7 separate regions of the Homo sapiens genome follow, and all the other regions are linked to region 1. Evidence: promoter capture Hi-C in 16 types of primary human blood cells and fetal thymus (Javierre and others, 2016). All regions are on one chromosome and are shown on one strand. Each heading gives the region's core, a stretch centred on a gene start or on the middle of the fragment in contact. The rest is flanking DNA. Distances are from core to core; before and after follow the strand shown. Region 1 holds the start of LINC02880 (long intergenic non-protein coding RNA 2880). Region 2 overlaps LAMA4 (laminin subunit alpha 4). Region 3 overlaps LAMA4-AS1 (LAMA4 antisense RNA 1). Region 4 overlaps LAMA4-AS1 (LAMA4 antisense RNA 1). Region 5 overlaps LAMA4 (laminin subunit alpha 4). Region 6 overlaps LAMA4 (laminin subunit alpha 4). Region 7 overlaps LAMA4 (laminin subunit alpha 4).

The links. The method cuts DNA at HindIII sites, captures the fragments that hold promoters and counts their contacts. A CHiCAGO score of 5 or more calls a contact.
Region 2: a fragment that was not itself captured here is called in contact with the fragment with the promoter of LINC02880 in region 1 in 2 of 17 cell types (naive B cells and total B cells); the score reaches 6.5 in naive B cells.
Region 3: a contact is called between a fragment that was not itself captured here and the fragment with the promoter of LINC02880 in region 1, in 3 of 17 cell types (total B cells, naive B cells and megakaryocytes). The highest score is 9.1, in total B cells.
Region 4: a contact is called between a fragment that was not itself captured here and the fragment with the promoter of LINC02880 in region 1, in 4 of 17 cell types (total B cells, total CD4 T cells, naive B cells and 1 more). The highest score is 9.6, in total B cells.
Region 5: a contact is called between a fragment that was not itself captured here and the fragment with the promoter of LINC02880 in region 1, in 8 of 17 cell types (total B cells, naive B cells, non-activated CD4 T cells and 5 more). The highest score is 18.9, in total B cells.
Region 6: a fragment that was not itself captured here is called in contact with the fragment with the promoter of LINC02880 in region 1 in 4 of 17 cell types (total B cells, naive B cells, total CD8 T cells and 1 more); the score reaches 7.8 in total B cells.
Region 7: a fragment that was not itself captured here is called in contact with the fragment with the promoter of LINC02880 in region 1 in 9 of 17 cell types (naive B cells, naive CD8 T cells, total B cells and 6 more); the score reaches 14.6 in naive B cells.

The regions. Positions count from the first base shown.
Region 1 is chr6:113,903,049-113,905,748 of GRCh38, reverse strand. LINC02880 (long intergenic non-protein coding RNA 2880) reads right to left here and starts at 1,362. Exons shown (of 4, transcript NR_027060.1): 1 at 1,005-1,362. The HindIII fragment of the contact is 3,143 bases long and covers 892-2,700 here.
Region 2 is chr6:112,232,446-112,235,145 of GRCh38, reverse strand. The region is part of intron 2 of LAMA4 (laminin subunit alpha 4); the gene reads left to right. Among named protein-coding and RNA genes, the nearest start is that of LAMA4-AS1, 2.8 kb to the left of the region's middle. The HindIII fragment of the contact is 1,360 bases long and covers 716-2,075 here.
Region 3 is chr6:112,290,134-112,292,833 of GRCh38, reverse strand. All of the region lies in intron 2 of LAMA4-AS1 (LAMA4 antisense RNA 1), which reads right to left. The region is part of intron 1 of LOC107986632 (a long non-coding RNA gene); the gene reads left to right. Among named protein-coding and RNA genes, the nearest start is that of LAMA4, 37 kb to the right of the region's middle. The HindIII fragment of the contact is 175 bases long and covers 1,231-1,405 here.
Region 4 is chr6:112,256,124-112,258,823 of GRCh38, reverse strand. All of the region lies in intron 2 of LAMA4-AS1 (LAMA4 antisense RNA 1), which reads right to left. Among named protein-coding and RNA genes, the nearest start is that of LAMA4, 2.9 kb to the right of the region's middle. The HindIII fragment of the contact is 3,914 bases long and covers 1-2,700 here.
Region 5 is chr6:112,159,198-112,161,941 of GRCh38, reverse strand. All of the region lies in intron 13 of LAMA4 (laminin subunit alpha 4), which reads left to right. Among named protein-coding and RNA genes, the nearest start is that of FAM229B, 73 kb to the right of the region's middle. The HindIII fragment of the contact is 6,360 bases long and covers 1-2,744 here.
Region 6 is chr6:112,140,185-112,142,884 of GRCh38, reverse strand. LAMA4 (laminin subunit alpha 4) reads left to right here. Exons shown (of 39, transcript NM_001105206.3): 20 at 593-766; 21 at 1,382-1,527; 22 at 1,963-2,125. The region is part of intron 1 of LOC107986633 (a long non-coding RNA gene); the gene reads right to left. Among named protein-coding and RNA genes, the nearest start is that of FAM229B, 54 kb to the right of the region's middle. RefSeq lists an enhancer at 870-2,069. The HindIII fragment of the contact is 5,539 bases long and covers 1-2,700 here.
Region 7 is chr6:112,215,426-112,218,125 of GRCh38, reverse strand. LAMA4 (laminin subunit alpha 4) reads left to right here. Exons shown (of 39, transcript NM_001105206.3): 3 at 1,657-1,758. Among named protein-coding and RNA genes, the nearest start is that of LAMA4-AS1, 20 kb to the left of the region's middle. The HindIII fragment of the contact is 1,937 bases long and covers 316-2,252 here.

The sequences.
Region 1 (2,700 bases), core at 113-2,612:
AGTGTCTGACCCTCTGGCCTTCTATGAACCATTGGGACCCACACACAACATGTCAGATCCAAAGAGCACTGGCCTCCGAACATGGAAGTAGGTGGGCAACTGAAGGAAAGGTGAATAGTGAGAACAGGGGAGGGGAGGACAAACGGAAGAAGGGAAGGGCCGGGAGATAAGACATTGACATGTGCAGTGAGCTTAGCTGGGCATGGTGGTGTGAGACTGTAGTCACAACTCCTTGGGAGGCTGAGAGGAGAGGGTCGCTTGAGCCCAGGAGTTCACATCTATCCTGGGCAACATAACGAGACCCTATCTTTTAGAGAGAGAGAGAGAGAGAGACCAGAAGTCCTGGACATAGCCAGGCTGTGGGCAGCCCACGGATGAGGTGAGATGTCAATGTGATCACCCCTGGAAGTGAGAAGGAAGGTACGGTGGGGTTATTGAATACACTGTGTCATTCAATTACTGTCATCGTTTGGATTTTATATGGGATGGGGGCTGGGAATTCCTGGTCTACTTGTGCTGGAGAGATGTTTAGGCTTTCTCAGATGGTTAATAGAGGGCACCAGCAGTTGTTTGGTGGCATTGGAGGAGCAGCTTTTTGTATCCCAAATGACCCTTTTCAGATAAAATTGAAGCTGGATTGAGACTTCGGGAGGATAAGTATAAAGTTGTAAGTGGGTGGGATAGAGAACAGCCATGCGAATGTCAAATCTCCTGTCTTTTCACTCCTGTCTTAGGCCGAATGTGAGGTGCCCCGTTCTTTCCTTTGGTGGAGCCTTTGAAGATTTTTCTTTTCTTTAAAGCTCACTTAGCAGTTAAAGACTTGAGATGGGCTGTAAAGCTGTGAAAAGCCTGGGAGGAAATGGTGTTGACATGAAGGGGTAAAGCCAAGCTTGGAGGGGTGCCAGTGGCAGGGACCCACACTAATTCCTCTTGTTCTTATGCCCTTCTAAATATGTCTCTGAAGCACAGGAGAACATTCCTAGGGAAAAACAACGTCCACTCACCTCATTCCAAGAAAATCTGTAACAACGTCCAATTGTCTTTGAGAGGAAAGAAGATGACATTGGGAGACACAGCATCTAGAGGAAAAGCGAGAACCACTGGTCTTCCTTTCAGACTTCACAGTGGGATCTTGGCGCCTCGGATAAACAAAGGCACTGGCAGGAAGGAAAGCGAAAATCAGAGGAGAGGTCTGGCAGGCCACAGCCAGAGCAGAGGCAGTGGGTGAGAAAACCCTGGGTTTGAGGACCCTGGTTCTCTTCCCTAACAGCCTTTGGGTCCCTCTTTCTGAAACAAGGCTTGAGAGCATGTCCTCTGGCCTGGGGGACTTGGGTGAGTCTGAGGCACCCCAGGTAGCAACGATGGCAGGTTTTGCACTTGAGCTGGGGAGAAAGCCAGTGGTGCTGAAAGCAATGGAGATTGAGGTACAGAGATCTTCCTGCCGAACCCATTCCCAGGCTTTCTGCCTTTCTAGGAATGGAGAGAGAGAGAGAATGCCTTGGCTGGTTTCCTGAAATCCAGTTCATGGAGCCACAGCCCCAGTGAGTGCTCACTCAAGAAACAAAGGCTCAAGAGAGGACAGGCACCAGCTAGGAAACTCCACTCCGAAAGGGATCAGCTGTTGCACTCACAGGCACACTGCTTTGGTCCAGGAAGTCAGTAAAAGGCAAACAGGATCCCAGCGAGGTCATTTGTTTTGGAGAAGACAGAGGGAGGAGGAGGGAGGGGCAGCCGTGTGAACGTGCAGTTATGTCAGGGCCTCCCCAGATCCCTGGAACGTCCTGCCTGAGCACAACAGGGAAAACCTCCCCCTGCTCACTAGCCCTCGGGAAGTACAGTTCTCACTGAATGTCTGTCAGCATAATTAAAAAATGAACACCCTTCCAATCGCAAGATCAACGCCAAGGGTTACCTTCCTGGGGAGCTGTCCAGGGGGAGCATGGTTTCCTAAGAAAACTTTTGTGATCTGTGTAGAATATTTTTGCCCCTATTTTTTTTTTTTTCTTCTGAGACAAGATCTGGCTTTGTTTCTATCAGGACATGTTTGGATGTTCTTCCAGAAAGTCTACTGGTAAGAGAGCTCAGTTGGTCTTCTAGGAGAGATAATTGTTGACATATCAGGGGCCAAAGGCTCATCTCTTCATTCCCTGCACTTGGGGAAGAGGTGGCATCATTTCACCCTTAGAGCACAGGATAAATATTATGATTATTCAAGCAAAAAGACATTCTACTGGCTACTTTTGATTTAGCATTACAGTTTCTAATTTATCCCAAAGATGCACTGACAGAAATGGAAAGATGTATTCACAAGGCCACCTATCACAGCACAATTTGTGTATTAGAAAAAACTCAAATGTCCATCAATAGGGGACCCTCAACTATGGTACATTCACACAATGCAGTAGTACACAGCTGTAAAAAAAAGAAGAAGAATATCTCTACATGCAAGTATGAAAAGATTTCCAAAATATATAGTTGATAAATATTAAGATATAATCGTTAAAACTCAAAACAAAATGAAAAAAGTCAAACCTAACTAGATATTGAGTTGGTGGCACATCCTCTTGGGAGAAAGTATTTCAAGTGACATTAAAACCTGGGAATTGACTGTAGACCTCAAGTGGGATATACCCTTAGAACAAAAGGAACTGCAAAAACACACACACACACACACACACAGACACAAACTTCAAATGTTTC
Region 2 (2,700 bases), core at 146-2,645, 1.7 Mb after region 1:
AATAGGAAGGTTTTTGGGAGGCAGGACAGTTCTAACCCTGCCCATTCCATGGTCCATTTTCAAAATGGTGGGCACTTTCACGCCTCATTCTCACCCTAGTCTTTGATGTCAGGAGGATCCTCAGTATGGTGAGAATAATACTGTATTTAAGATGAAGCTGATGTCTGTGTAAGGTCAGAGTAATCATCTTTATGAGTATTATCCGAAGATATTTGGATATCCGAAGATATTTGGATATCCAAAGATATTTGTAAGGTTCTCCAAACTTCTAGGTTTTTATTAAAGGGCTGGGCTCTTCCTGGTCTCAAACAGTATTTGTGGTTACTTTGGCAGATGAAGCACATTTTTCCTGTGCCCTATGTTTTTGGACATGCAGTATATCAAAGTGTTCGGTGGAAATAAGCATTCTGTTATTTTTTTCTTAGCACATTTTTTGTCTTCTCTTCCATTCAGTTATGTTGAAAGCTACGTGTTGGATCTGTTTTTTAGTTATGACATTAGATCTTCATCTGAGATTATCTAAACTACGTTGGTTTTCTTTTGATTACAATCTCTTTTTTTTTTTAATCTGCTAACACAAGCTCATGTTTATCTAGAAAATGCGCTTTCTCCTCAAAGTCATGAATCAGCATGAATTTCCTTTGAGTTAGTTCAAATCATCCAGAAATTAACAAATTTCAAAAAAGAAAAAATATACTAAAATGTAGTCAAAGCTTTATAAGAATACTTTATGTGCTATATCTCAGCTAGTCACTGAGTAGCTGTCATAAACCTATGACATAAACCTACTGTCATATACCGATGACAGTAGAGTATTGAAAAACCAGGTGCACCAGGTTCTTGTTTTCATTCTTGATAGGTTCTAAGTTCATTAAACCAGTCTCGCAGTTACTCAGAGAATCACAAAACCAAGTGTTCCTCTTATTATCTTGCTTAGCTCATTTTGGGTAAAATGCATCAAACGGCAGAATGAAAAATAAAAAAAAAAATTTGTTTTTATAGTTGAATGACGTTCTTCCTATGTATAAGTTATAACTTGAAAATTATTACTGCTTCCAAGATTCCTAACTTTCAAGCCACATGAGAGTGACTCATGGGATCCTGGTGGCCCCAAAGGATTAACAAGGCTTCCAGATGTGCCTAACACTTATTTCAGGAACTAGGGCAAGCCTCCAATATTATCTACAATGTGTGGAGAGAGGGTGGCGTGTCCATGTGAGTATACTGTAAGCCAGAAGGTTGCTGAAGATGTCACAAAATTTAATTGCTGATATTAAACTAATCCTTCCAAAGAAATTCCCAGCAAGTAGAAAAAAAGTAAATTCATTGGTGTTTTTATTGAGAGAGATTACCAGGAGTGAAAGATGCCTGCTTGAAGCAATGAAACAACAGACAGAATATAAGTTTAGCCTCTCTACCTTATGAGGAGTAAACTAAAAATTGCCCTATGCTTTCTTTCAGCCTCAGCTTTCCTCCTTTCAGAAAATCCTCCACAAACCGCACATCTACCAAAGAACCATTTTTGATTCCCGCTCTTCCCTATGTTAAAAGTAATCTCTTGCTCTTCTTAGCTCACTCAGCATTTCTTTGTACCTCTCATGATATTATAGCTCTTAGCACTTTCTTCCAGATATTCTAGTAAGTTACAGATACAGCTTAAATTTCCCCCATTGAACCCCTGAAGGCCAGAAGGGTCCATGATTCATCTTCTGATTCCCCAAATTGCCTGTGCAAGTTCCTTTTAAAATTCGTGCTCAAAAAAAATTGTTTATGCATTCCACAATTATTTGTTGAAAACGCATTTTGTGCCAGCCCCTGGGCTGGGCCCTGGATAGCCAGTGGTACATGAAGCAGAGACAAAATGAATAAATGACCATACCAAATACTGAAATCCAAAACAGTGCCTACTTTTCTGCTCATGGTATGTGTATGCTCTGATACGATTCTGTTGTGTAATTCTGAAGAACAAGTCAAGATAGCATTTGGCGTGACATCAATAGTCAACCACGGTGTCCCTGGCTGCTCATTCCAGGAGCTCCGTGCTGCGAGTGAGAATGCCTTTTAAGCTAAAAGCTTTGTCTTTCCCACTGTATATGGAAAAATTGACTATGCACTTTCATGGAGAAGGTCTAGCTAAGAAATGTTTATATTGGAACAAGTCCCATCTCTAAATCTGGGCTGTTGCTGAATGGTATTTTGTTTCCTTGGATCAGGGAAGGGGTCTGGAAACATCTGTAATGAAAGTATTGTTTTAAAATCAGCACAATTTTTTTCTTCAAATGACAGATAACAGAATTGCTTTAAATCAAATACTCTCAGCCTTCCCCATTCATTTCCTTTCATAAATGTGTATTATTTTGTTGTCATTAAAATGGCAGTGTGAATACTAGATTTGTTGCACCCCAGACATTGCCATTCCCTTTGCAGTCATTTTCTTTTCACTTTAGTTTGTGTTCTTTACCTTCACTTTTAGAAACGTGCTGTAACAGAATAGCTATCTCGATCACAACAGTTATCTGGGGGCAAAATTTCAAAGCTACAAAATGATGGTATATTGTAAAGCAATTCTGAAACTATCCTCCAAAATTTTTACTCAAAAGAAATGTACACATTATGCTATTTATAAATGAAAAGTTAAAGAAAATACATATTTACATTAAATAGTATTTCACAAAAATCTAAAAATGAAATCTTAGGGAA
Region 3 (2,700 bases), core at 69-2,568, 1.6 Mb after region 1:
CTTTTTGTTTTGCTTTTTAGTTGTTGTTTTAGAAAAATTGTTGATTTGTAGAAATGTAGCTAAGATAGCATAGAGTTTCCTTATGCCTTTCACCCAGCTTTCCCTAATCTTTATATCTGCTAGACCCACAGAACATTTGTAAAAAACTGAAATTAACATTGGCACATTACCATTAACGAACTACAGATTTCGTTCACATTTGACCACTAATGTCCTTTACTTTCAAGGGATCTGGTCCAGGGTATGACCTTGCTTGTATTCATCGTGCCTCCTTAGTCATCTTCAATCTGTGAAAGTTACTCAATCTTTCTTGTTTTTACTGGCTTTGACACTCTTTAGGAGTGTCAGATATTTTGTAGAACATCCCTCAATTTCGGTGTGTCTGAAGTTTTCTTAAGATTTGGGAAAAGAATCCCTGAAATGATTAAATATTAGAGTGAGGTAGAAGGAAGACTTGAAGGACTCTGATGTTTTAAGATGCAATAGACCTGTCAACAGTGAGAACATTTACCAATGTCCATAAAAAGCACAAATCAAAAGACAGGCTTTAGAAAGAAGATAATGGTTTTAGCTCTGGCTGTGCTGAGTTTGAGGTGCTTCAGGTCTTCCAGCTAAAGCAGTTCCACACTTATTTGGAAGTCTGTGTCTGGTGCCTAGATGAGAAGATCAAGCTGGAGGCAGGAATTGTAGAGAAAATGGTGGCGCTCAAGCCAAGAGATTGGGTGACATCACTCAGGGGGACTTGCAAAGCTGATGAAAAGAACAACAAATAGGTTGGAAATTCAGATAACATTTAAGATTTGGGCAGGGAAAGAGGTACTAGCAAAGGATACAGGGAGGAAAAAAAGTAGTTCAAGAGCTAAGAAGACAACCAGATATGAGTAGTGTCTAGAAAGTAAACATAGCAGAGAGTTGTGAGAATGGGGTGCTGCTGTCATAAAAAATAAAAAAATTTCCAAAGGACCAAAAGAGATGAGGACACTAAGGTAACAAATGTCACCCCTCCTTCTAAGAATGTGAAGGTGAAAAGAAACCAGAAGCATAGTGTGGCATCTTGAGCAGAAGTTATGGTAGAAAAGAGATATTATTTCCTTTCTTTCTTTCCTCATTAGGATCAAGGAGACTGAGAAGCCAAAGGGTTGGAGGTGAGAAGGCTCAGAAGGCTGACAGAAATCTGACCAGGACAGTTGTGTCTCTTGACTTTCAAGTTACCTTTGTAGCCCAAAAGCTTAGGGAGGAATAATTGTGCAATGAGAAAAAAAAAAAAAAGGAAATTCTTAGTGTGGGTTAGGCAAAAGCAGAGCTAACAGAAGATACTGTGAGATTTCACAATTACCCGTAGGGAATAAAAGAGAAAATAATAAAGAATGTCATTTATTTAAAAGGTTTAGTGTTTGGGGAAGCTTTTGTCATACAAAATTGAAGCTATCATTTTAAAATCTAGGATTACTTGAAAAAAAAAGCATAAGAATACAACTTTATGCTTTTTACCCATGATACAGTTTTTGAAGTCAGTCAACCTATAATGTTCAAGTGGTTCAAGAACAATAATACAATGTGTTTCCTGAGGGTTTCAAAAATGAAATGACCTTGACTATGGATGGAACTCCAGTTAGCCACTATAATTCTGTAAGCAACATCTAAATATCAAAAGAAAAATTGACATTTCATTCTTCATGTGGGAGTAAAGGTTTTAATCTTGTCTGAACTAACAACAACTGATTCATACACTTTATAGAAGGACATATTGAAAACATAAATAATACTGAACTGAAATATAGACTATTTATTAAATGGCTCTTTAAAAAAACAATGATGTGAGTTACAGAAGTTTACTCTTCCCTTTTGCAGTGCAACTTGAAATTTGTTTTGATGCGAACAAATATACATTTATTTACAAGAAAAAAGAAATATTTAAATTACATTTACTTTTTCAAATTAAGGTACGAACACTGGTTTAAATCAAACCTTAACTGAACACAAATAGAAATTCTTCTCTACACTCCTCACTTACTCTACTATACCAGTCCATACTTTATTACGACGGAAGTATGTTCTGTACAAGAGCCTCCATGGTGAGTAGTGAGAGGTAGAGACTTGAGTCTAATTCCAGTTCCATTGCCAAGTGGCAAGCCACTACCTTCTCTGGATTTCAGTTGAAATACATTTTCCAGATTTTTTTATTGCTGTCTCCTATATTAAACACTATCTCCTGTATTATGTTAATCCATTCTCTTTTCCGAGAAGCAGAGAGATAACATTTTCTAATGGGGAGAGTAAGGCAAAAAGAAGTTCATTGACTGACAGGAGTTTGAGACCAGCCTGGCCAACATGGTGAAACCCCATCTCTACCAAAAATACAAAAATTAGCCAGGCATGGTGGTGCATGCCTGTCATTCCAGCTATTCGAGAGGCTGAGGCACAAGAATCACTTGAACCGGGGAGGTGGAGGTTGCAGTGAGCCGAGATCACGCCACTGCACTCCAGCCTCGGCGATGGAGTGAGACTCCATCTCAAAAAAAAAAAAAAAAGAAGTTTATTGACTGAGTACAAAGAACAAAGACATCAAGAGAGATGGAGGCGAAACACAAGCTGTCAGTCAACACCAGCATTGTACATTGTGGCTAACAGGATATGCTCTGCACTGCCAGAGTTCAAATCCAGCCTTTGTCACTTACTGGCTAGAGCCCTAGTGTGAGT
Region 4 (2,700 bases), core at 176-2,675, 1.6 Mb after region 1:
GTTAATGCAAGGAAGGGCCCAGTAGCAGCCAGAAATGTGAATGGCTATTCTCAAACATGGGAGGTTACCTACACCAGGATAAATAAAATGGTTGCCTTTCCTCTTTTACAATAGTCATTTTGTTCTTCTTTAAGATTTGAAAATATAGTAAGGCAGGTCCCAGAATAACATTGTTTCTTTCAATGTTGCTTTGTCATAATATTGGTGAGAAAAAAAAAAAAATCAATTCCTGGCTGGAGCCACTGTCTGTGTGGAATTTGCAAGTTCTCACGTGAGTTTTCTCCAGGTACTTCAGTTTCCTCCCACATCTCAAAGATATCCTCGTTCCTTGGTACGTCTGCATGGTTCCAGTCTTAGTGAGTGTGGCTGTGTGTGTGTGAGCGTGCCCGGCAATGGAATGGCCTTCTGTCCAGGGTCCCCAGCTTGAACTCTGAGCTGCCAGTATGGGCTCCAGCCACCCAACACTCTGAGTTGGAAAAAGCAGGTTGGAAAATGATTGAATAATGAACAAAAATTGTTATCAAATAAAAATTCATGAAGTCTACAATAATCATACAGGCATATGACAATAAATGATGCTGCATGGAAGCGTTCAGCGAGCCCATCATATTTGTTGTTGGGTTTTTTTGAATTGCATGGTGGTAGGAGGTGCTTATAATTTTTGCTTTAAAACATTTATTCCTTGCTTTAACCCACCACCACTATGACTGCTGTCACTCACTGATTCACCAAACATTGGGTAAATAATTCTCACACTTGTTTCTATTAATCTTTCTGAAATGTACGTATAGCTCACATTTATTTTCATATTTACCATTAGAAGCATTTTGGTCTTTCTTTAGAAGTTTAGTGATGTTTTTGTGACCAGAACTATGTCATAGGAATTTAAATAAATCTTAATTATGTCAATTAGCCTAAGGTAAAATTGGCTTCATTGTATGTTGTTTTGCTTAAAGTTGCAGTTTCCAAGAACATATAGATAATGTTAAATGGGGGCTTATTGTATAATTAAATAGTATTTATTGAGCTCTGACTACATGCTAGTCTGTGTTAATGTTTATTTATATTCTTTCATTTACTACCCATAATAATTCAGTGAAAATGTTACCAGAAAGAGGTTTCAATCCAGACCCCAAGAGAAGGTTCTTGGATCTCACGCAACAAAAAATTCCAGGCGAGTCCATAGAGTTAAGTAAAGCCAAGTTTATTCAGAAAGTAAAGGAATAAAAGAATGGCTACTCCACAGGCAGAGCAGCCTCAAGGGCTGCTGATTGCCTATCTTTATGGTTATTTCTTGATTATATGCTAAACAGGGTGTGGATTATTCATGAGTTTCCTGGGAAAGGAGTCGGCAATTTCTGGGAACCTAAGGGTTCCTCCCTTTTTTAGACCATATAGGGTAACTCCCTGATGTTGCCATGGCATTTATAAGCTGTCATGGTGCTGGTGGGAGTGTATTTTAGCATGTTAGCGCAATATAATTCACGTATAATGAGCAGTGAGTCCGACCAAGGTCACCACCTTGGTTTTGTTGGGATTTGACTGCCTTCTTTACCGCATGCTGTTTTATCAGCAAGGTCTTTGTGACCTGTATCTTATGCTGATCTCCTGTCTCATCCAGTGAGTTAGAATGCCTAACCTCCTCCAAACGCAGCCCAGTAGGTCTCAGTCCTATTTTACCCAGCCCCTATTCAAGATGGAATTGCTCTAGTTGAAATGCCTATGACAAAAAGGCATCATTATGCCCATTTTACAGGGAAGGAAACTTTCAGAGGGACTAAGTTACATGCCAAGCTCCCAAAAGTACTACATGCAGACCCAGGATTTGAACCCTGTTTTATTTTATACAAAACCCATCCCCCTGCATATTATGCCATTTTGTCTCAAAAACAATAATAGTACCCACAGAAAGAAGATGAAGAGGAAGAGCTGGGAGCACATATTTAACCAAAAATAAGAAGTCCATAGGTCTTGGACGAATACACTCCTACCAGCACTGGGCAGGCAGACAGAAGAGGGCCCAGATTAAATTAAAAAGTGTGTGATTAATTGGCAGCTAGTAAAGAACAAGATGAAATCCTTCAGAAAACAAATATATGAGTTTTGGTGAGCTGAAGAGATCTGTATCTGAAGTCAGAATATTTAATATACATCATATATAATTAATATTATTATTATTTAATGTTCTTTTAAAGGGTGACTGGGTCAGTATAACTGAGCATAATCTGTTTTGTCTCAGAGTCTGGCTATCTTTTTTCCCAATATCAGTCTCTCAACTAAACCAAACATGTTTTTAACTTCTCCCACTTAATTTAGTAGGTTAACAAGTCTATGTAAAAGAAGAGTATCATAATTTAGCTTAATAGTCCCTTGCAATACTATTTTAATATTTTAAAATCAAAATATCACTTTAAAACCTATAGGAATTATTTTTGCTTCCTTTGGCTTTGGTTCTTTTGTATCATACAATTTTATCATTTAAAATCAAAGATCTTACCATCAGATTTACCTGGGCTATAGTAGTAATTTTACCACTTACCCATGGCCAAATGTGTATGACAATCCCTACTTCATGAGATTATCATAAAGATGAAATTAAATGAGACAATTTTTTTTTTTTTTTTTTTTTTTTTTTTTGAGCTGGAGTCTTTCTCTGTCACCCAGGCTGGAGTCAGTGGTAAAATCTCTGCTCACTGCAAC
Region 5 (2,744 bases), core at 130-2,629, 1.7 Mb after region 1:
ATGAGACCCTACATGACCCAGCTCAGACCCACTTTTCTGACCACATACCCAACTCTTTTCTCACTCACTGCACTCCAGCCCAACAAACTCCTCTCTATTTTTCAAATATACCATACTTATTTCCTGCCTCAGGATTTCTGCACCTGCTGCCCTCAGATCTTCAAATGGCTGGTGTCCTTATGACCCTGACATCCAAATGAACCCCTTACCCCACTCACTCCTCATCCCACCCCACCTGTCATATGTTATTCAAAATATCTTTTACTCCCTGAAATTAGCTTGTTTGCTTGTTTGATCACTTGTTTATTACCTGTATCTCTCCCACTAAACTGTAAATTCCTTGAAAGTGGAGACTGTGTTCAAAGGTATTCTACCCCCAGAAGAGTTCCTGGTCCATAATGAGCACACAGGGAATATTTGTTGATGGAATGAATGAGTAAAAGTGGTATGTCCATGGTCTATTTTCCACTTATACAATTAAAAACATTTTTTTCAAAGTATTGTTCCCCAGATGACCAACCAAAATGGCTAGAGGTTTAATACTGCCTCCATAAAAGTAAACCCTTTGTACTACAAACCCTTTGTGCTACATTCTGGGATTACAAAAATAAGTTAAACTCAGTTCCTGCCTCCTAGGATTGTATGATGTGATGAGTTAAATAATCACTTAAAATTATTACAATCATTTGACACATGAATGAATAATAAAAACACATGGCAACACTTAACTCATCCTGAGGAGGTTAGGGATGGCCTCAAAAAGGAAGTGATATTTGAGCTGAATTTGAAAGGAGGAGTAGAGCTTTCCAGGTAGATTAGACAGAAAATAAAGGAAAATTATTCCAGAAAGGGAAAATATTTGCAGAGGTAAGAGACCAGAAAAAATTGTGGAGCATTAAAACAACAACCAGTTGGTCAAGATTAGACCATGGGATATAGCAGGTTGGGGGTCATGAGAATTGATGAAATTGGTGAGAGAAGAGCGGTCAGCTGATGATGTCATGCTTAGAAATTGGACTCATTCCTGCAAAGCAACTGGCTGATTCTGAGAAGGGAAATAACATGGTCAGATTTTCTTAATAGGAAGATTACCTTTCCTGCAAGACAGTGGAGAATGGATTAGAATACTCAAAGACTGCCCTCAGAGAAAGAAGTGAGATCACTCAGGGGAGAGGAAAGGGCTGGGAGTCAAATGCCAAGTTTCACGGTCTCTTTCTTGGTCAGGGAAAGAGGAGACCCAGGAGATAGCATAGTCACAGAAGCTAGGAAAAGAAAAGAGTTTTAAGCAAAGACAGTGGCCAACACTGTAGCAAACCACAGATGGGTCCAGTAAATAAGGATGGGAAAATGTCAAGTGGATCTGGAGATTTGGGGCCAGGTGTTGGTGATCTTGGCAAGAAACATTTCTGTAAAGTGCACTGTGTCAAAGCAAGAGAAAAAGCTAGAAGGGAGCCTAAAGTGAAAGAATAAGGTTTTTTGTTTGTTTGTTTGTTTGTTTTGTTTTTTGACGGGAGATACTTGAGCATGTTTATATCTGAGAAGAGTCAGTAGCTAGAAAGCAAGAATGAATAACGGGGTTACCAAGACAATGGGGCAGCATGCTTTATACAGAAAATGAACATTTTCCTCTTAAAATTGGAGAGAAATTTTTGTGTAGGTGTAGCTATAAATACATCTATAGAGTTTGCGGGGAAGGGCTGGGGGCTGGTTGCAAAAAGCTGGGGAAATACCTGTTCATTGGTTTTGGAGTCTCTGAGGGAGTTAACCAATAAATAGTGACCCTTTCCAGAACCCAAGTTCTAAACAGGTGGAAACATAAATAAAATAGTAAATACAGAGACCAAGGAGGTTGCCTTATTTCTGAAGCAGCTAAGCAGCAGGCATGGCTTTAGGTCTCTTAGCCAAGTGGGGTAGCTGACATTCAGTCCCAGTATTAAGCAGCTGTGCCCACCCAGACAGGCAACACCGTAAGGCTTAGATGGGGGTTCTGCCCAGAATAGTTTTAACATGGAGGAACACAGGAAAACTCAGGCTTTCTGCTGGCAGCTTGCTCCCAGGACAAAGAAGGGTGGAGTTGAGCAGAGCCTATAGAGTTATTCTTCCCAAATTTACCCACAAAATCAACCACTCCCCTCTCACAGGAGTAGAGTGAGGAAAGGGGTAGAGAGGTCTGGAGTTTCACTCACTGTGCTCCCTGCATATAAAGGAGACATCAGAAGTGTGGAAGAAGTGTCCCCCACTAACAGTTTATGACCTCCAAATAAAAAAGAAAATAAAGTGATCTGTTTACAATCAGATGGGGGTGGGTGAAGGAAATGTTGGCTTAGGAATCATGACAATGTTTAGAATCACTATTTGGGTGACTAGGAGAACAAATCTCTTTGCAGCATTGAGGGGCCAGCCAAGGCTGAAACTCACGGGTTTGCAGGAACATCCGTCTACACAGTTGCACGATCTTTAAGCAAAATCGTAGGTCTGTGGTTGTATTAAAAACCAAGAGAGCCTGTGTTACAAGGTGATTTTTAGGAAGTAGTCAGTCACCTGAAAGGTAACTGAAAGGTCAGATGAAAACTGAATGATGTCCATTAGATTTAGTAACTTAGATGTAATTAACTTCTCTTTTGGTAGAGTAATGGAGTAGAAATCAGACAGGACTAGGTCAAAATAGGAAATATAAAGTGAGAGAAAATAGAGACAACATATATAAACAACTTCCATTTTTTGAAATATGTTGCTATGAAGAG
Region 6 (2,700 bases), core at 89-2,588, 1.8 Mb after region 1:
ATCCTCATTTCACAGATGAGGAAACTGAAGGTTAAGTGACTTGCTCAAGGTTACATAGTTAGGAAGTGGTAGAGCCCACCTGGTCTGAGACTACAAAGCTAGTCCAGACCCCTCCCAACTGTGTAGACAAGGGCAAGGATGTTGCTCACAGCCTCACCCCATGTCCCTTTTATGAGGACCCTAGGGACAAAGTCCCAGCTGTATTAGTAACCAAAATTAGTTCTACTTCTCCCAAACAATTAGTTTTGTATAAATTGTATGAGCCTTGTGAATTGTATACTGACCAGACAACTTGAGCAAGTTGTTTAGTTCACCCAAACCAAGTATACTGTTCATGGTGGAATTCATATTTATCCTCATTCTTGGATCTACTTAGTCACCACTTTTTTTTTGCTTTCTTTCACCCCACTTTAAACTACTGTGTCACAATCTGCCCTAAGTCTTCTCTTCAACTAGGGGAGGATGTGGTAAATAACTACAGGTATGGAGGTGAAGAGAGTTTATAGGCCCCTGTCACGAATGAGGGAAGCACGGGAAAGCACTCTGCCCATTTCTGCAAAGCACTTTTAATGAAACCGTTGTGTCACTCCAGATCCAAGTCTCCATGATGTTTGATGGCCAGTCAGCTGTGGAAGTGCACTCGAGAACCAGTATGGATGACTTAAAGGCCTTCACGTCTCTGAGCCTGTACATGAAACCCCCTGTGAAGCGGCCGGAACTGACCGAGACTGCAGATCAGTTTATCCTGTACCTCGGAAGCAAAAACGTAAGCACATGAGTTTGAAAGGAGGGAATAATATTTACAAGGAAAGCTGCTTTTTCTCTTGCCTAAAATAAAGCCACCTAGGCAAACAAACCAAAACAATGCCCATTCTGGTAACTCAGAAGATCTCATTTTAATGGCAAAATTAAAAGAATGACTAAAGGACAAGTCATTTCTTCTCTGTGTGGGATATTGTGGGGATTGTTTCCTATCACCATCACACTACTAACTTTGATGAGTCTGAATGAAACACCTCAAAGACTTTCAGAAAGACAGAAGCCTATTCTGTTTGATGCTGAATCCTGTTTAGAGATGCATAGTGATCGGTACTGTCAGGCTGTATTATATTCCTGGGTTAGCCTCACAAAATTAGCCCATTCCTGGCAGCCAACAAATTTCCACGAGCCTGAGCAAGATGGGGCCAGCAGACTCTGATGTGGCCACAGGGAGGCTGGAAAGGAAGAGACACTGCCTGCTCACAGGAGCTTCGGATAATAATTCAGGCCAGAAGTCACTTGTATATACCCAAATATTTGGATTTCTGATTGTCCTTTAAAAAAGATGATGTTCATTCTTATGAATTTTATTTAAATGACTTCTTACTTCTTGATATTTCAGGCCAAAAAAGAGTATATGGGTCTTGCAATCAAAAATGATAATCTGGTATACGTCTATAATTTGGGAACTAAAGATGTGGAGATTCCCCTGGACTCCAAGCCCGTCAGTTCCTGGCCTGCTTACTTCAGCATTGTCAAGATTGAAAGGTACAGTGAATCCATGACACAGGGCATATATGCACATATCACAAGAAACCTGTTGAACGTGCACATGTGCGTGCACACACACACACACATACACAGTCTTCCTGTGGATGTTATAAATAGCATTTTCCTCCCTTTATTCTTGCTCCGTTTTCTTCCATTATTCTTATATTCTTTCCCAAACACCTTAGTAGGAAAGAAAAAAAAAAGTCATTTCTAAATCACGATCTGATTATTAGATTTTACCTGGTCAATCCATGAATTAACTTCAAAATGGAATGTCTTTCTTCTCTTTCTCATTGATTGTGGTATTTTGTAAATGCTTATTAGTGTCACAAAATTACCCATTTTGTGATGAGGGAGCATTAACATTTTGACATTTAAAAAGTATTTTCTATGAATTATATAATAACAAGTGAAAATTATTTATCTCAATAGGGTGGGAAAACATGGAAAGGTGTTTTTAACAGTCCCGAGTCTAAGTAGCACAGCAGAGGAAAAGTTCATTAAAAAGGGGGAATTTTCGGGAGATGACTCTCTGCTGGACCTGGACCCTGAGGACACAGTGTTTTATGTTGGTGGAGTGCCTTCCAACTTCAAGGTCAGCCATACAGCTATATTTTGACCTATTACAAATCTACAGTAATTGTTTTTATAAATCCATAAACCTATAATGACTTGGGGGTTGCTGATATCACTTTAAGAGCTTAGTTCATGGGGGAGTAGAATTCTGAACCAGAATCTATAAACCTGATGTGTAAATCTGGTCTATGCTACTCATATTTTCATAATGTCAAATGCTTTCAAGTTATAGCTAACTCCTGAAGATCAGTTCATTCATTCTGATACATGCATATGTAATTAATATTACCCCCACCTGCCACAGGAAGGTCCGTAGCTTGTGGTGTCACCACAGTTTAGATCTAATCTTCAGCTTTGCAGTGGTGGTTTCAAAAATTCAGTTATCTCACCTAATACAGGTATGAAATAAAGTATCTGGGATGAGAGAGGGGGTGAGACTTCGGAGAGAGTATGAAATCTGATGAAGGGGGATAAAGGAAAGGTCGAAGAAGATGGGAAGTTGATCTAGGGTTCCAATTTCAGGACTATTATTACTAGTTATGGGCACATAATTGGAATTTATCTGAGAATTATTTTCCCTCTCATTATATGAGA
Region 7 (2,700 bases), core at 35-2,534, 1.7 Mb after region 1:
ATTCATGGGTCATCAGATCAATTTTATGGGTCATGACCAGGATATACTCTTAAATACAATAGAGAAGTTTTAGGTACATTATTACTTTGTGAATCTTTTCTCTGAGACACATATATATGGATATCTATATCTATCTCCATATCTACACCAATATAGATATAGATACCAATCTGTGTACTGCATCACAATGAAAACATGTATGTTTTACTTTGCGGCAAAGACTAAAAATGTGAAATTAAATGGTCTAAATTAAATGCTTCCTACTGCAATCTTAGTGTCTTCCCTCTCTTGTTTTCTAGTGGAAACTAAGAAGCTTACCATCAACCACAACTCTCCATTAAAAAATTATAAATTGATCTTCTCTTAGCCTTATTTCTCTAACTTGGAAATGTGGAATTTCCTTGCCTTTTTTTCATAGACAAATGTTGTTATTCTTTATTAAACTTCCTCCAAATGGGGTTTATTAAATTTTAGTTTTAAAGTGTGAACTGATGTGTGTGTTTTTTTTTAAATACTGTGAATGGTGTTTAGTGACTCTTTCTTTACAGAGTAAAAAGCAAGGGGAAATAGGTTTGCATAGCAATCAGAGGGACTTCAGCCAGATATAATGAAAATTTCCTGGTCGCCAGGGAAGTGCAAACTACAATGGGTCAATGGGGGTGTATGATGTGAAATCTTGGACTCTGTAAGTCTGTGGAAACAAAGCAGATTCTTATCTGTCTGGAATTCTTTAGACATAAACTTGTCTGATGGGCGGGGAGCGGATTTCCAGGCCCATAATGCCATTTCTGCCCTTCATCACTGAGACATTCCAAAGAAATATCAAATGCATATCCACAGCCTAATCACATAAACCAGGAACAATCTCATAATGTGTCTCAAATGGCACACTAATGATATCTGGGGAGGGCAGCTGATGATTGTGCAGGTCAATTGGTGCATGACAGGATAGTTTAACATCCCCAAAAGCCACTTAGCACCTCTCAATCTCATGAGCTCATCACTAGGATAAGGGAAAGTCATGTGTTCCTCGCAGCATTCTGAAGACAAATGAAATACATATATGAACAGCACCCACACAGGACTTGACAAGTGTAAGAACTCATTAACTTCCTTATCCCTCCCTTTAACATGTTAGCATCTGAAGAAACAGATGCTTTTAAGAACTGAAGTTCATGAAAGACTCAGTTGCTATCCTATAGCTAAGTTGCTCTCCTATAGCTAGTGATTGCTGAAACGAGAAGTCTTTCTTTATTTATAGGGAGCATGACCTCACCCTGACTAATACTTAATTGTGGTCTTGTTTTGTTTTGCTTATACTGGAAGAAAACATTAGCATTTTTTTCTCCCTTACTGTTACGTAATACCTTCTTATTCTTCCTTGCAATGATAAGACAGTGTTAAAGGCATTTCTGTTCTCCTGAAAAGTGAAAGGAGGGAAAAAGTTATGTAACAAAGAAGATTATATATACATCATCTATCACTGAATGGTAGTATAAATAGTTTATTTTAGTATGTTTTGTATGTATCATTTAGTATATTCATTTTAGAAATGTTTAGATTGTTTAATAATCACTTTCTCTGATTTCTTCTCAGAAAATATTGACCAAAATCAATCTTTTCAATAATCAAAATGGTTTGGTGTGTCTGTTGCAGAAATGCAATGCTGGATTCTTTCACACCCTGTCGGGAGAATGTGTGCCCTGCGACTGTAATGGCAATTCCAACGAGTGTTTGGACGGCTCAGGATACTGTGTGGTAAGTTGGGGCACCTATAACACTTCACGTACTTCACTGGGCATTTGCATCTTGGGTGAAGATAAAATATTTTTCGGATGTTTGAGCCACATAGGAGCAAACTGCTAATCAAGTGCTTTTGTTCACCCTTCAGCTTTTCCTGTGAAACAACTCATATAAACTACTTCTGATTTTAAGGGTCCACCAAGGCATATGCATGAGTGTGCACGTGCACCCGGAGGCTCCTGCCCCACCACCCTCAGCAGCTGGTTGCCTGCTGTAGACCAATGGCGGTGGGATTGAAAATGATACATAGAGGAGGAACCCATACATCCAAATTCCTCTGTAATCGTATAGTTTGCCATATGTTTGGCTTCGTTCCACATAAACCAGGAGAATGAAACAGTTGTTGCCTAGCCTATTTTAGAACCTAAAATAACCAGGTCTATAGATCAAAATTAGTTTTTAAAAAAGAAATTTAAGTTTGAACCCAATAGCTGATGAAAATGAAAGCTTTGCCCTTGTGGTCTTTGCAAGTCTGTGTTTAAGCCCCCAGGAGACTATTTTTTTCCTTAACTGAAATGAATTCTCCAATAGACTGTTCTTCATTGAAGCATGATAGAGCCTTGTGCGAAAGATTGAGAAGTCTTCCAGCAGAAAAGTACTTGCTACATATTTCCCATTTTTAATGAATGGACTGACAACTTAAGTGAAAATGGGTGTTGAAATATTTACCAGAAGTGGCTTCAGTGGAAGTCATAGAGGGCATTTATAAGAACTTATGCTCAAATAGCATGTTTTCCTTCGTGAGCTGTGTGATACAGCAGAAAAATTCTTCAAGTTCCCATCTGGCAAAAAGAGGTTTTCCAAAACTACAAGAGTATTTTTGCATAAACTATAAGAATACTTATTTAAATGCACTCAACATTTGCATAATTGTCCCTATTAGATAATTTTTATTTT